Linked DNA regions of Homo sapiens: all the other regions are linked to region 1. The links are contacts of gene promoters, found by promoter capture Hi-C in blood cells and fetal thymus (Javierre and others, 2016). All regions are on one chromosome and are shown on one strand. The core of a region is centred on a gene start or on the middle of the fragment in contact, and the rest is flanking DNA. Distances in the headings are between cores, read along the strand shown. Region 1 holds the start of RNF138 (ring finger protein 138). Region 2 overlaps TRAPPC8 (trafficking protein particle complex subunit 8). Region 3 overlaps TRAPPC8 (trafficking protein particle complex subunit 8).

What was found. Contacts are between HindIII fragments. The CHiCAGO score rates a contact against its expected background, and 5 or more counts as called.
Region 2: a contact is called between a fragment that was not itself captured here and the fragment with the promoter of RNF138 in region 1, in 16 of 17 cell types (total CD4 T cells, total CD8 T cells, non-activated CD4 T cells and 13 more). The highest score is 19.6, in total CD4 T cells.
Region 3: a fragment that was not itself captured here is called in contact with the fragment with the promoter of RNF138 in region 1 in 12 of 17 cell types (total CD8 T cells, total CD4 T cells, naive CD8 T cells and 9 more); the score reaches 13.5 in total CD8 T cells.

What each region holds. Positions count from the first base shown.
Region 1 is chr18:32,090,047-32,094,307 of GRCh38, reverse strand. It overlaps RNF138 (ring finger protein 138), which reads right to left and starts at 2,434. Exons shown (of 8, transcript NM_016271.5): 1 at 2,073-2,434; 2 at 1,422-1,608. The coding sequence starts at 1,531. It overlaps LOC124904278 (a long non-coding RNA gene), which reads left to right and starts at 2,363. Exons shown (of 2, transcript XR_007066327.1): 1 at 2,363-2,453; 2 at 2,806-3,033. It also overlaps a transcript of RNF125 not described here. RefSeq lists a silencer at 1,596-2,015 and an enhancer at 2,686-2,735. The HindIII fragment of the contact is 10,157 bases long and covers 1-4,261 here.
Region 2 is chr18:31,922,929-31,927,105 of GRCh38, reverse strand. All of the region lies in intron 2 of TRAPPC8 (trafficking protein particle complex subunit 8), which reads left to right. Among named protein-coding and RNA genes, the nearest start is that of TRAPPC8, 18 kb to the left of the region's middle. The HindIII fragment of the contact is 1,651 bases long and covers 1,995-3,645 here.
Region 3 is chr18:31,875,474-31,880,029 of GRCh38, reverse strand. The region is part of intron 12 of TRAPPC8 (trafficking protein particle complex subunit 8); the gene reads left to right. Among named protein-coding and RNA genes, the nearest start is that of TRAPPC8, 65 kb to the left of the region's middle. The HindIII fragment of the contact is 214 bases long and covers 1,623-1,836 here.

The sequences.
Region 1 (4,261 bases), core at 1,185-3,684:
GGTATCAAGAAAACAGCCACAGTAAGGGCATTTGCAATTAAGAACCAAAAATTCAATCCATCCTTTACAAAATTATAGAACCTCACCTCAAAAAAAAAAGAAAAAAAAGTCGAAGGAGAATGAAATACATTTAGAAGGTTGGTCAATTCTTTTCAGTTGTTTGCAAACACACGTAACTTTCAAGCCTGAGTGTGTTTTTTAAAAATAAAGATTTCCGGGCGGGGCGCGGTGGCTCACGCCTTTAATCCCAGCACTTTGGGAGGCCGAGGCGGGAGGATCACGAGGTCAGGAGATCGAGACCATCCTTGCTAACACGGTGAAACCCCGTCTCTACTAAAAAAAAATACAATAAATAAATAAATAAAGATTTCCAGGCCCCACCTGCCCGAACATTCTTTTGTTAAGTTTGAAATGGAGCCTGGGAATTGGTATGTTTACTTAAAAAGTTCCCCGGGGACTCTGATCATCAGTCAGGTCTGTCAGAAGGGCTATACACCTTCTCAACAAGGGCTCTTTCCAACCCTTACTCACACCCTAGCTGTCCATAAAATTTTATCAAAGTTCTTGTAAATATGCCTGCCAATCAAACGCATGCGTTATCTCACCCAACCCCTTTGTGTTCTCCCCCACCCTGGGTAGCATCTCAATTTCGGCTCATTCCTCATAACAGAAGTCTTCCTTTCTCCTCTCCACCCTTGTATTAATCAAGTAATAAGTAAGCAGAAAGGTAAAACAAAGGGGAACGCTCATTTCAATGCCCGAAAATCCTGTCAGTTTTAAGAGACCAGAGAAGAAAACTCATTCTAGATCCCTCTAACACATAGTGGACTGGAAACGAAACAAAACGCTCTCGAGGGTGTTCTGTGAAGCAGGGTTGAGGGGAAGTTACAGAAGAGCTCTTGGACCGAGGGGACGGACCAAGGTTCTGAAAGAGGAAACTTGAAAGCAGGGCAGGTCGCGGGGCGAGCGGGCCCGCGCGAGCACCGCCGGCCGCTTTTGACACTCGACACCCCAGCCTTCACCCGGGTTGCTAAGAAACAAAAAGGCTCCAAGATCCCTGCAATTCCTCCCGGGCCTGGCGGAGACGACAGGGGCCTCCGGGGCCTGAAGACGCCGCAGGGAACGGCCTGGCCACTGCCCCGGGGGCGCGAAAGCCAGGGAGAGCGGGAGAGCGGGAGAGCGGGAGAGCGGGAGAGCGGGAGCTTGGGCTGAGGGGGCTGGACGCGGGGAGCGGGCCCCGAGGCTGAGGAAAAGGCCGCCCCGGGACTCTGAGGGGCGGGGAACGGGACCTCGCGGGGCAGCGACGCTCGGGCAGGCCGCGGCGGGCTCGGTTCCCGCCAGGCGGCAGCCCGGGGTCCCGGGCCGGAGGCCGGGCCTAAGCGACAACCCGGCTCCGCGAGGGGGAGGGGGCGTCTACTCACACGTGCTGACAGGCCGTGGTCCGCACGGGCGTTTTGAGCACCTCCTGACAGACGGGGCAGTAGAAATCATCTTCGGTGTAGGACGTGGCCGCAGAGAGGTCCTCGGCCATGGCGGGGGATGGGGAAACAAGGCGATGGCGACAGCGGCAGCGGCCGAGGTGACGGTGGCGGCCCGGGGCCCGACTCCCTACATGAACCCGGAGGGGGGAGGGGGATCGCATCAGGATACAGCGCGCGCCAGGAAGGGGGCGGGGCCCTGGGTAGGGCGGGGCCGAACGCAGAGACGCTACTGCCGCACGCGCCGGGCAAGAGGCGACCCCTCCCACGGCTCCTCCCACAGGGGGCTGGATGGGGGACGGTGCTTGGCGGGAGGCTGGGCTCGCAGCATGCCGTGGGCCCGCCCCGCTCGCCCCTCACCCCGCCCCAGGACGCGGCCTCACGCTCTAGGCCACGCCCTCACCGGGCTCCAGGCGCGGGCTCGCGCCCCGCCCTCAGCCCCCGTCTTCGCCCAAGGCCTCCCTTTTCACTGCTTTTCCGCCTCTACTCACCCCGACCCCGAGCCCCGAGTGCCCAGCCCGTGTCCGCGGCTTCCTCCCCGCCCCGCTTCCCGGCACCCCGGCCCCTCCACGCTTCCGCCGGGGAGACTCTCACCTAGGAGCCCCGAAGCGGCGTTGTGGACGGAGCTGCTTTTCCTTCACGTGTTCGTAGAGACCCGGCCCAGCGCTTTCCTCGAGCTTCCTGTCCGGCCGCCGCTATCTTCGCAGCCGAGGCCCCGGGGCAAATGGAGGGCGGCGTGCGCTGTGCTTATCGGCCCCTAACGGGGCCGGAGCCGAGGCTCATGGTGCAGGGAGATTCGCCCGCCGCCGCCAGCAGCTCTGTCTTGGCATTGCGCTGCCTACAGCCTACCCGGCCGTCACCGAACGCGGGAGCGCCGGGGATCTGGGCGGAGGAGCCAGGAGAGGCGGGGAGGCACGGGGTGTGAAGTGCGGCCTGTATAGCAACCGGCGCACGGCGCCTTCCGCGGGTTGTGACGTAAGCAGCTGGGCGCCCGCGGTGACACCTGCGCCTCCCCGCCCCGCCTCGCTAGGCCCGGGACCCCAGTTACCTCTCCTGTCAAATACATTGGGCCTTTCAGGAAGTTTTCGTCAATGTTCAAGATTTAGTCTTTACTATTTGCCCTACCAGAATGTTTTGATCTTGTCAAGATGTGTTATAAACAAATATTTGTTACGGGATTTTAATCCTTTGGGGGCAGGATTAAAGTTTCCTTGAGAGGATGTCCACTTTCTCCTTTAACAGCATGACCGATGCTTAAATACGGTCGCAGATGCAGTCTTCTACTACACCTTTGGGTTGATTTTTGATTTTTTCTTTTTTTTTTTAGCTTTGAAGAGAAATGCCGTAGAAGCATGGACGTGGCTTTTCACCAAGGTTATTCACTAATTTAAGTGTTTTTTTTAATTTTATTTTATTTTATTTTATTTTTTGAGACAGGTACTCACTCTGTCTCCCAGGCCGGAGTGCAATTATCTGTACAATTGATAATCTATAAGATGGTCCAACCTGCGTAACAGAGTGAGATTCCGTCTCAAAAAAAAAAAAAAAAAAGAAAGAAAAAAGGCCGGGCGCGGTGGCTCACACCTGTAATCCCAGCCCTTTGGTAAGCGAAGGCGGTTGGATCACTTGAGGTCAGGAGTTCAAGACCAGCCTGGCCAACGTGATGAAATCCCATCTCTACTAAAAATACAAAAATTAACCGGACATGGTGGTGGGAGCCTGTAATCCCAGGTACTCGGGAGGCTGAGGCACGAGAATCGCTTGTACCCGGGAGGCAGAGGTTGCAGTGAGCCGCGATCGCGCCGCTGCACTCCAGCCCTGGCGACAGAGTGAGACTCTCAAAAAAAAAGAAGAACAAAAAAAGGATAAATCGATAAGATGGGATCCACAATGACGTGAAAGAAGCTAAGGAAAATCTGGAACATTATACAGCATCTACAATTAGCTTCAGAGAAAAGAAAGGTTTTATTACCATCCTTTGTTAAAACCCTCCCCCATGGTCTAAATGAATAAACAGAAGCCATTTAAGGGACTATTTAAATCAATTCTGCCATTTATTGTCTATGTTGACATTGGCATTGTTAGGTGTTATGCAGATGTCATGAACTTTGCTCTCAACCTGTTTACATTATTACATATCTATCAGAATGAGAGAGAAAAAATGGTATTTGCCAAAGTATTAAATTTTGCATTAAACGATGGCTATAATGAGGATAGGAAATGGAATGATTAGAAATATATAGAGTTAACAGAAAACTTTATGGAGGAAATGGGTTTTAATGTACATCTCAAAAGCATTGATTCCTAGAATAATAATAATTTGTCCAATGAATAGCTAATTCCCTCTACCAAACTATATTTTGTATTTTTGTTGCTTTTCCTCCTTAGCAGCAAGCGCAGTGGAAGCAAGACAAGAAAGCTAATACTAGCTTCAGATTTCCTGGAAGGAGGAAGAGCACGTGACGAGAGGGGCAGCTAATAGCAGTAGTTCAGGTGCTTTTCACATTCACTTATAAAATGGTTCTTTGAGTTCAAATTTTTAACAGCCCAGAGAAGAAAACTCACTTTTTTTCTTTTTTCTTTTGAGACAGAATCTCACTCTGTCACCCAGGCTGGGGTGCAGTGGAATGATCTCAGCTCACTTCAACCTGCGCCTTCCAGGTTGAAGCAACTCTCCTGCCTCAGCCTCCCAAGTAGCTGAGATTACAGGCATGCACCACCATGCCAAACTAATTTTTGCATTTTTAGTAGAGACAGGGTTTTGCCATGTTGGCCAGGCTAGT
Region 2 (4,177 bases), core at 1,571-4,070, 170 kb after region 1:
AAAATGATATGTGTACATAGACAAAATGATAAAAAGACTTAAAGGAAAAAACAACAGTGATCTGTACCTTGCCCCACCAATTTCTGTAGTCTTTTCCTCGGGTATTGATTATGTGCTTCTAAGTAATATTTTTATATGGCTGTCTATGGCGTAATAAGTTTTAAATTTAAATAAGTTTTATTTATTGACTTCTCATTATCATTGATAAGGATTTGGCTTAATTACTGTCTATCCTTTCCACTCCATCTCATAGTTTTTGGTTAATATTCACTGCTTATAATATGACTAAATGTCATTCACTTCTTCACTGCTTAGCCAATTATTGGGCTTTCTGATACAGTATTTTGTGTTTTCAGGAGTTAGTAATTGTCTTTTTAAAAACATCTTGTGGTGGCTCACGCCTGTAATCCCAGCACTTTGGGAGGCTGAATCACCTGAGGTCAGGAGTTCAAGACCAGCCTGACTAAAATGGTGAAACCCTGTTTCTACTAAAAATACAGAAAATCAGCTGGGCGTGGTGGCACACTCCTGTAATCCCAGCTGCTTGAGGCGGAGGTTGCAGTAAGCCGAGATCCCACCGTTGCACTCCAGCTTGGACAACAAGAGCGAAACTCTGTCTCAAAAAAAAAAAAACCAAAACAAAACATCTTGCTCAGTTCTTTGTGTCTGTTGCTAGTTTCTCAGACTTCTTCAACTGTATTTTCTACTCGAGAGATTAATTTGTCAAATAACCCATTTATCAATGGCTCCTTCAAGAAATCTCTATTGTTACTGCATATATTCTCATTAAGGATGATATTCCTATGTGGTAAAAATTGGTCCTTGGGGGACAAAAAAATCTTAGCTATTACAGTGGTCTGTGGCTCTCCAAAGGGTCTCCATGCATAAATAGATACACAATACAATTGTGGTGTTATTTTAAAAAATACTTTAATCGGGGGAAAGGATTGATTAGAAAAAAGCTGTAAAACACAGAGAATATAATGAAATAAAAGCTGGGAAATGGTGTTCAATTTTATGTCGGACTGGTTGCTGTCCGAGGCCCACTCCACAGCTGTCATCCTGAGGATTTCCTTCCCTTCACTTCTCTGTAGTATTTCATTTATATATATTTTGTGTGTATTTCCTTAGTATGGTGAAGGACATCTCTAGTAGCTTCCTGAGAAAGGGTGCATGGAAAATAAAATTTTTGAGGAATGAATGTTGGAAAATGTTCTTATTTTATATACTTGATTGATGGTTTGACTGTGTACATTGTTAGTTATAAATCATTTCCCTCAGAATTGATCCACTTTCTTTTAGCTTCAAGCATTGCTCTTAAAAAAGCTAGAAGCCATTATATGTATTACCCCCAGCCCTCCAGCTGTTAGAAGTTTTTGAAGGTCTTCATCCCTGCTATTTTGAAATTTCACGTTGGGGTTTATAACTCCTTTTTCACTTATTTTACTGAGTAGCTTCTTTTGACAGTCTGGTTATGCACTTTTTAGCCCTGAGAAACTGTCTTGTATTCTTTCTTTGTTAATTTCTCCCTTATTGTTCTCTCTGTTCTTTCTGAAACTACTGTTAGTTGGATGTAGAACTTCCTGAGTTGATCCTCTAATGTTCTTTTTTTCTAAAATTGTCTATCTCTGTCTTTTTATTTTTCTGGGTGTGAATATCCTTGACTTTATCTTCTGATCCTTCTATTGAAGTTTTAATGTTTGGTGTCTTTTTGGGGTTTTTTTGGAGCTATTTTCTTCTCTAGATTTTCCTTTATTGTGACATGCTATTAAGGTTTTATGTTATAGTGTCTTAACTCTGAAGATAGTAATAAATTGTTGTTGGCTGTTTTTTTAAGTTTTCTTCTATCCTGTGCCTTTTTTTTTCATTCGTATTATTTTTATTTGTTTTGATTTTTTTCATGTTGGACACTTACCTCAAATCTTTGGTTAGACCAGGCATTATTTTCTATTTCAAATTGAGGCATTAAAACCCTGACTGAGTATAAGAAAGCTTATCAGTTAGTAGACTTCTTTATTGGGTGGTAAGGCTAAGAATAGGTTTAAGGGTTGCCCAATTTTTATTACTTATAGTTTTTTTCTTTGAGGCCATTTAGTTTATCCAGAGAAGGATTCTGAAATCTGCTCTCTGGCTGTGTCCTGGGCCTTTTTTTTCTATTAAAGTGGTTTGGCAGATCATTTATAGGAACATAGTTATGATTTGGTTGTGGGAAATTGTTTTATCTAATTATATTACTTGCATTCTCAGATCCCTGCCAACATCTCCTCATACGGGAGGATTGATTGCTATTTGCATTTAAAAGCAGGTGGAGGCAATTACTATAGCTTAACTCTTCAGGCGGATTTTTTTTTTTTTTTTTTTTTTTTTGAGACGGAGTTTCGCTGTTGTTGCCCAGGCTGGAGTGCAGTGGTGCGATCTTGGCTCACTGCAACCTCCACGTCCCGGGTTCAAGCGATTCTCCTGCTTCAGGCAGATTTAAAAAAATTAGTATTATTAGTTGTATATTTAGTGGAGACAGAGTTTCATGATGTTGGCCAGGCTGGTCTTGAACTCCTGGACTCAAGTGATCCACCTGCCTTGGCCTCCCAAAGTGCTGGGATTACAGGTGTGAGCCACCACTCCTGGCCATTTTTTTTTTTTTTTCGGTGGGGAGGGATGGAGTCTTGCTCTTTCGCCCAGGCTGGAGTGCACTAGCGCGATCTTGGCTCACTGCAACCTCTGCCTCCTAGTTCAAGCAGTTCTCCCTACCTCAGCCTCCCAAGTAGCTAGGATTACAGGCGCCCACCACGACGCCCAACTAATTTTTGTATTTTTTTTTTTGAGACGGATTCTTGCTCTTGTTGCCCAGGCTGGAGTGCAATGGCGCGACCTCGGCTCACTGCAACCTCTGCCTCCCAAGTTCAAGCAATTCTCCTGCCTCAGCCTCCCAAGTAGCTGGGATTACAGGCACCCGCCACCACGCCTGGCTAATTTTTTGTATTTTTAGTAGAGATGAGGTTTCACCACGTTGGCCAGGCTGGTCTCAAACTCCTGACATCAGGTGATCCACCCACCTCAGCCTCCTAAAGTGCTGGGATTATAGGCATGAGCCACCACGCCTGGCTAATTTTTGTATTTTTTTAGTAGAGGCAGAGTTTTGCCATGTTGGCCAGGCTTGTCTTGAACTCCTGACCTCAGGTGATCCTCCTGCCTTGGCCTCCCAAAGTGCTGGGATTACAGGCATGAGCCACCACACCCGGCCTTATTATTTTTAGAACTAGAGATAGGGTCTCACTAAGTTGCCCAGAGTGGTCTCGAACTCCTGGGCTTAAGTAGGATTAAACTACACACCAGAAGAAAACAGTTTTTTTTTTTTTTAGCTTCTTTCCCTTTTACTGAAAGGCACCTCCTTTCAGCTTTATTTTTATGTTGGCCATGAAGACTGAGAATGAGATACGATGAAGTACTACGTTAATTTTAGTAAAATTTCATTAAACAGAATAATACTCTTTGGAGATCATAGAAAAGTGATTTTATCCATTTTAATAAGGTATTAATTCTTATATATTCAGATGTATGCTTCTAATTTTCACCATTAATGTGAGTCAGCATACTTTTCATTCATTCTGTTAAAGAAATAGATGTTAGATATTTACCTCATAAGCTTAACAGTGCCGTGTTTTCTTCAGATCGGTCATTTAAAGCTGCTATTCCTTGGTACAGTAATTGGAAAGACACATTGATGGAGTTGAAAGTCTGTTATATACAGGGATTTCTTGTGATGGTTTCAGTTTTCTAGATTTTTCTCACCTACTTCGTTTCTGTTGTCTTTTTTTCCCCACTTAGGTACTGTTTTGTATTTTTCCCAATTGACATGTCTAATTTTTCTAAAATGAGGAAGGTCTAATGTATCTATTTTTTTCAACTTTTGTTATCTATTTTATCATCCATTATCCTGTTTACTCTTACAGCATTATGTGTTAAATCCAAGCATAGTCTTTGAATGGTATATTTTGGGCTGCATCTTATTTTAAAAGGAAGGAAGACCATATTACCCTTCCTTACCAGGTAAAACAGTACATTCTGCATGTTTTTGTTTTGTTTTGTTTTGAGGCAGGGTCTCATTATGTCACCCATGCTGGAGTTCAGTGGCTCTCTCTTGGCTTACTGCAACCTCTGCCTCCTGGGCTCAAGCGAT
Region 3 (4,556 bases), core at 480-2,979, 210 kb after region 1:
TTGGCTTTGAATCCAGCTATCTTGGGCTTCATTTGGTTGTTTATTTATTTTTTTTTTTAATTACTGATGGAATTTTGTAACTACTTAATGACCTATTCAAGATTTGAGTTTCTTCCTTGTTCAGTCTTGGGAGATTGTATGATTCTGGGAATTAACCCATTTCCTCTAGGTTTTCTAGTTTGTGTGCATAGAGGTTCATAGTATTCTCTGAGGACCTTTTGTATTTCTGTGGTATCAGTTGTGATGTCACCTTTGTCATATCTGATTGTGCTTATTAAAATCATCTCTTCTTTTTCTTGCTTAATCTTGCCTAGTAGTCTCATCAATTTTGTTTGTGTTTTCAAATAACTTTATTTTGTTGATTCTTTGTATGATTTCTTTGGTCTCAATTTCATTTAAAGAATAAAGATCTGCTCTGATCTTTATTTCTTTTCTTTTGCCAGCTTGGGCTTGGTTTGTTCTTGTTTCTGTTTCCTCTAGATGTGACATTATTAATTTGAGATCTGTCTTTTTGATATAAGCATTTAGTGCTGTAAACTTTCCTCTTAACACTGCTTTTGCTGTATCCAAGAGGTATTGATATGTTGTGTTTCTGTGTTCATTTGTTTCAAAATTTTTTTAAATTTCTGCCTTAATTTCATTGTTTACCCTAAAGTCATTCAATACCAAGTTGCTTAGTTTCCATGTACTCGTATGGTTTTGAGCGTTCCTCCTGGTATTGATTTCTAATTTTATTCCACTGTGGTCTGAGAAGATCCTTGATATGATTTTGACTTTTTAAAATTTTTTGAGACTTGCTTTGTGACCCAGTATATGGTCAACTTCAGAGAATGTTCCATGCACAGATAAGAAAAATGTATATCCTGTAGTTGTCAGTTGGAATCTTCTGTAGACGTCTATTAGGTCCATTTGGTCAAAAGTCCGATTTAATTCCAGAGTTTCTTTGTTAGTTTTCTTCCTCGATGATCTGTCTAGTGTTGTCAGTGGGGTGTTGAAGTCCCCCAGTATTACTGTATGGCTGCTTGTCTTGTCTTCAGTCTAGTAGTATTTGTTTTATAAATTTGGATGCTCTGGTATTGAGTGTGTATATGTTTAGGCTAGTTAAATCTTCTTGTTGAATTGAACTCTTTATCATTATATAATTCCCTTCTTTGTCTTTTTTTTTATGTTGTTGGTTTAAAGTCCATTTTATTTGATAACAAGAATAACAACCCCTGCTCTTTTTTGTTTTCCATTTGCGTGATTGATCTTTCTCCACCCCTTGACTTTGAGCCTGTGGATCTCGTTACACAGAAGATAGGTCTCTTGTAGATAGCATATGCTTGGATCTTGTCTTTTGAGTAGAACAATTAAGCTATTTTTGTTCAAAGTTAATATTGATAAGTGAGGTTTTGTATTTGTCATAATGTTGTTAGTTGCTTTGTAGTCCCAATTGTATAACTGCCTTATAGGATCTTTGAACTTTGTACTTACGTGTATCTTTATGGTTAGCAGGTATCATCCTTTTGTTTCCGTGTTTAGAACTCCTTTGAGCATTTCTTGTAGAGCTGGTCGGGTGGTGACAAATTTCTTTAGCATTTTCTTGTCTGAGAAATACTATTTTTTCCTTCAATTATGAAGCTTAGTTTGGCAGGCTGTAAAATTCTTGGCTAGTAGTTTTTTTGTTTTTGTTTTTATTTGTCATTAAAAAGGGTAAAAACAGGCCCCAAATCTCTTTTTGTTGGTAAGGTTTCTTCTGAGAAGTCTGTTGTTAGTCTGATAATATTTACTTTATAGATTATTTGATCCTTTTTGGGATGGGGTGCACCAGTTGCTCATCCTGAGCAGACAGAAGCTTCCTTATCACGCCCCGGTCAGAGGGCTCACAACCATCAGTTCATGTAGACTTTGTCCATTAGGCTCTGACCAGAGTACACTTCCACCAAAACGGGCAGCTGCCACCAAAATGGGCTCAGGGCGGAACTTCTTCCTCTAGTACAGAGTAAACAGCTTTGCAGCTTGTCCACCTTCTGTTGCCCGGATGCTTCTCTGTAGGGAGGGGGAATTGGGCCTTGCCCTTCCTGCAAGCCCAGTTGGCATGGGGTCACTTTTTTTTTTTTTTTTTTTGAGACAGAGTTTTGCACTTGTTACCCAGGCTGGAGTGCAATGGTGCGATCTCGGCTCACTGCAATCTCTGCCTCCTGGATTCAAGCGATTCTCCTGCCTCAGCCTCCCGAGTAGCTGGGATTACAGGCACGCGCCACCACGCCTGGCTAATTTTGTATTTTTAGTAGAGACGGGGTTTCACCATGTTGGTCAGGCTGGTTTCAAACTCTCAACCTCAGGTGATCCACCCGCCTTGGCCTCCCAAAGTGCCTGGGATTATAGGCGTGAGCCACCGTGCCTGGCCATGGGCTCACTTTTTTTTTTTTTTTTTTTTGAGACGGAGTCTCCCTGTTGCCCAGGCTGGAATGCAGTGGCGCGATCTTGGCTCACTGCAGGCTCCGCCCCCCGGGGTTCATGCCATTCTCTTGCCTCAGCCTCCCGAGTAGGTGGGACTACAGGCGCCCGCCACCTCACCCCGGTAATGTTTTGTATTTTTAGTAGAGACGGGGTTTCACCGTGTTAGCCAGGATGGTCTCGATCTCCTGACCTTGTGATCTGCCTGCCTCGGCCTCCCAAAGTGCTGGGATTACAGGTGTGAGCCACCGCGCCCGGCCAGGCTCACTTTTAGCTGTGATGGAGCCACCACAAAAAGCATGAAAAGTGCTTTCCCCAAGGACACGTCTGCCAGCTCCCAGCAGGGAGAACCTCTCCTGTGTTCACAACAGTGGATGGGGTGGGCGGGAAATGATCCCCTCTTCATGTTCATTTCCAGCCGCTGGGGCTGCCCACTTCAGCGATTGTTGCTTGCTTGCATTACCTTTGTCTCAAGGTGGGGCTTTGGCAGGCTACTGTCCCCCCTTCCCCTAGGGGCAGCCTAAATTAACGGTTACATCTCCATGGGTCTCACACCTTCTCTGGGGACCCACTGGTCTCCTAAACTTGCTAATGTCACAGCAGTTGTGAATATGTTAGGGATCTGGTGGTGCGGTGGTGACTCAAGAGCAGAGATTTCCTGGGCAGGGCAGTGGTATCTCCTGTCTCAGTTCAGGCCTGAAAGGAGGGCGGGCATGCCTGTGTGAGCTGGCCACCCACATCCTTGTCCCTGGGACGTTCTCAAACTGCCACTGTTAGTGTTGTCCTGCATCATGAGGGCAGAGGGACTCCCCATCAGTTGGATGGTGAACAGATGGTCAGAGGGGTGAGGGCAGCAGAGAAGTACTCCCACTTACCCTTTCCATGGGGTTTTGTGTTCCTCAGCACTCGATCCCTGCCAAACTCTTGTTGTTTTTCTTTCCTGCACTCTAGTTTCTTTCCATGGGTTCTTCATCATATCCTGGCTGTCTTTTCTCAGTTTTCTGTTTGGATAATTAGTTACTTTGATCTTTCTGAGGAGAACTGGCATCTGAGGATCTGAGGTCCCTAGTAAGTGATCTTTTTTTTTTTTTTTTTTTTTTTGAGATGGAGTCTCGCAGTGTAGCCCAGGCTGGAGTGCAGTGGCACAATCTTGGCTTACTGTAAGCTCCGCCTCCTAGGTTTATGCCATTCTCTTGCCTCAGCCTCCTGAGTAGCTGGGACTTCAGGCGCCCGCCACCATGCCCGGCTAATTTTTTGTATTTTTAGTAGAGACAGTGTTTCACCATGATAGCCAGGATGGTCTCAATCTCCTGACCTCATGATCTGCCCGCCTCAGCCTTCCAAAGTGCTGGGATTACAGGCGTGAGCCACCCCTCCCGGCTGTAAGCGATCTTGAAGAAAATACTCTCCTTTTAAAAAAATTGATACATAATAAACATACATAGTTTGGGGTATAATACGTGATAATTTCATACATTCATATAATTTATAAAGATCAAGTCAGTGAACTTGGGATATCCATCACCTTAGAACCATTCAAATTCTCTATTTTGAAATGTAGAGTAGATGGTTGTAAACTATAGTCACCCTGCTGATCTGTCTAACGCTAGGTCTTATTTCTTCTATCAAACCATGTATTTGTACCCATTAATCAACTTCATTCTCTATCACCCACTCTCCCTGGCCTTTGGTAACCACCAGTCCACTCTCTATTTTCATGAAATCCACTGTTTTAGCTCCCACATATGAGTGAGAACATGCAGGATCTGTCTTTCTGTGTACCTCTTTTGATTTTTTACATTGATGATGTTTATTGCCACAAATATTGCATTCTTATTGCAATACTTGTAAGATTTTGGCATTCCTTGCAATTTTCCATTTTGAACACACATCTTGTATATCATTCTGGTATATTATTAATCTCTTGCTCTTCTTAAGTCCTGCAGTAAATGCACTGAATACCAGGAAGTATGCCCTGACACTTGCCAACAGCACCTTGAAAAGGAGGCTGTGGTAGCACCTGATGCTGGCAGAGAACCCCGTCATGTCTTGCCCAGGCAGTGTTTACTGTGCTGCTGTCCTAGCCCACTGCTTTATTTGAACCGTGTGAGGCATAA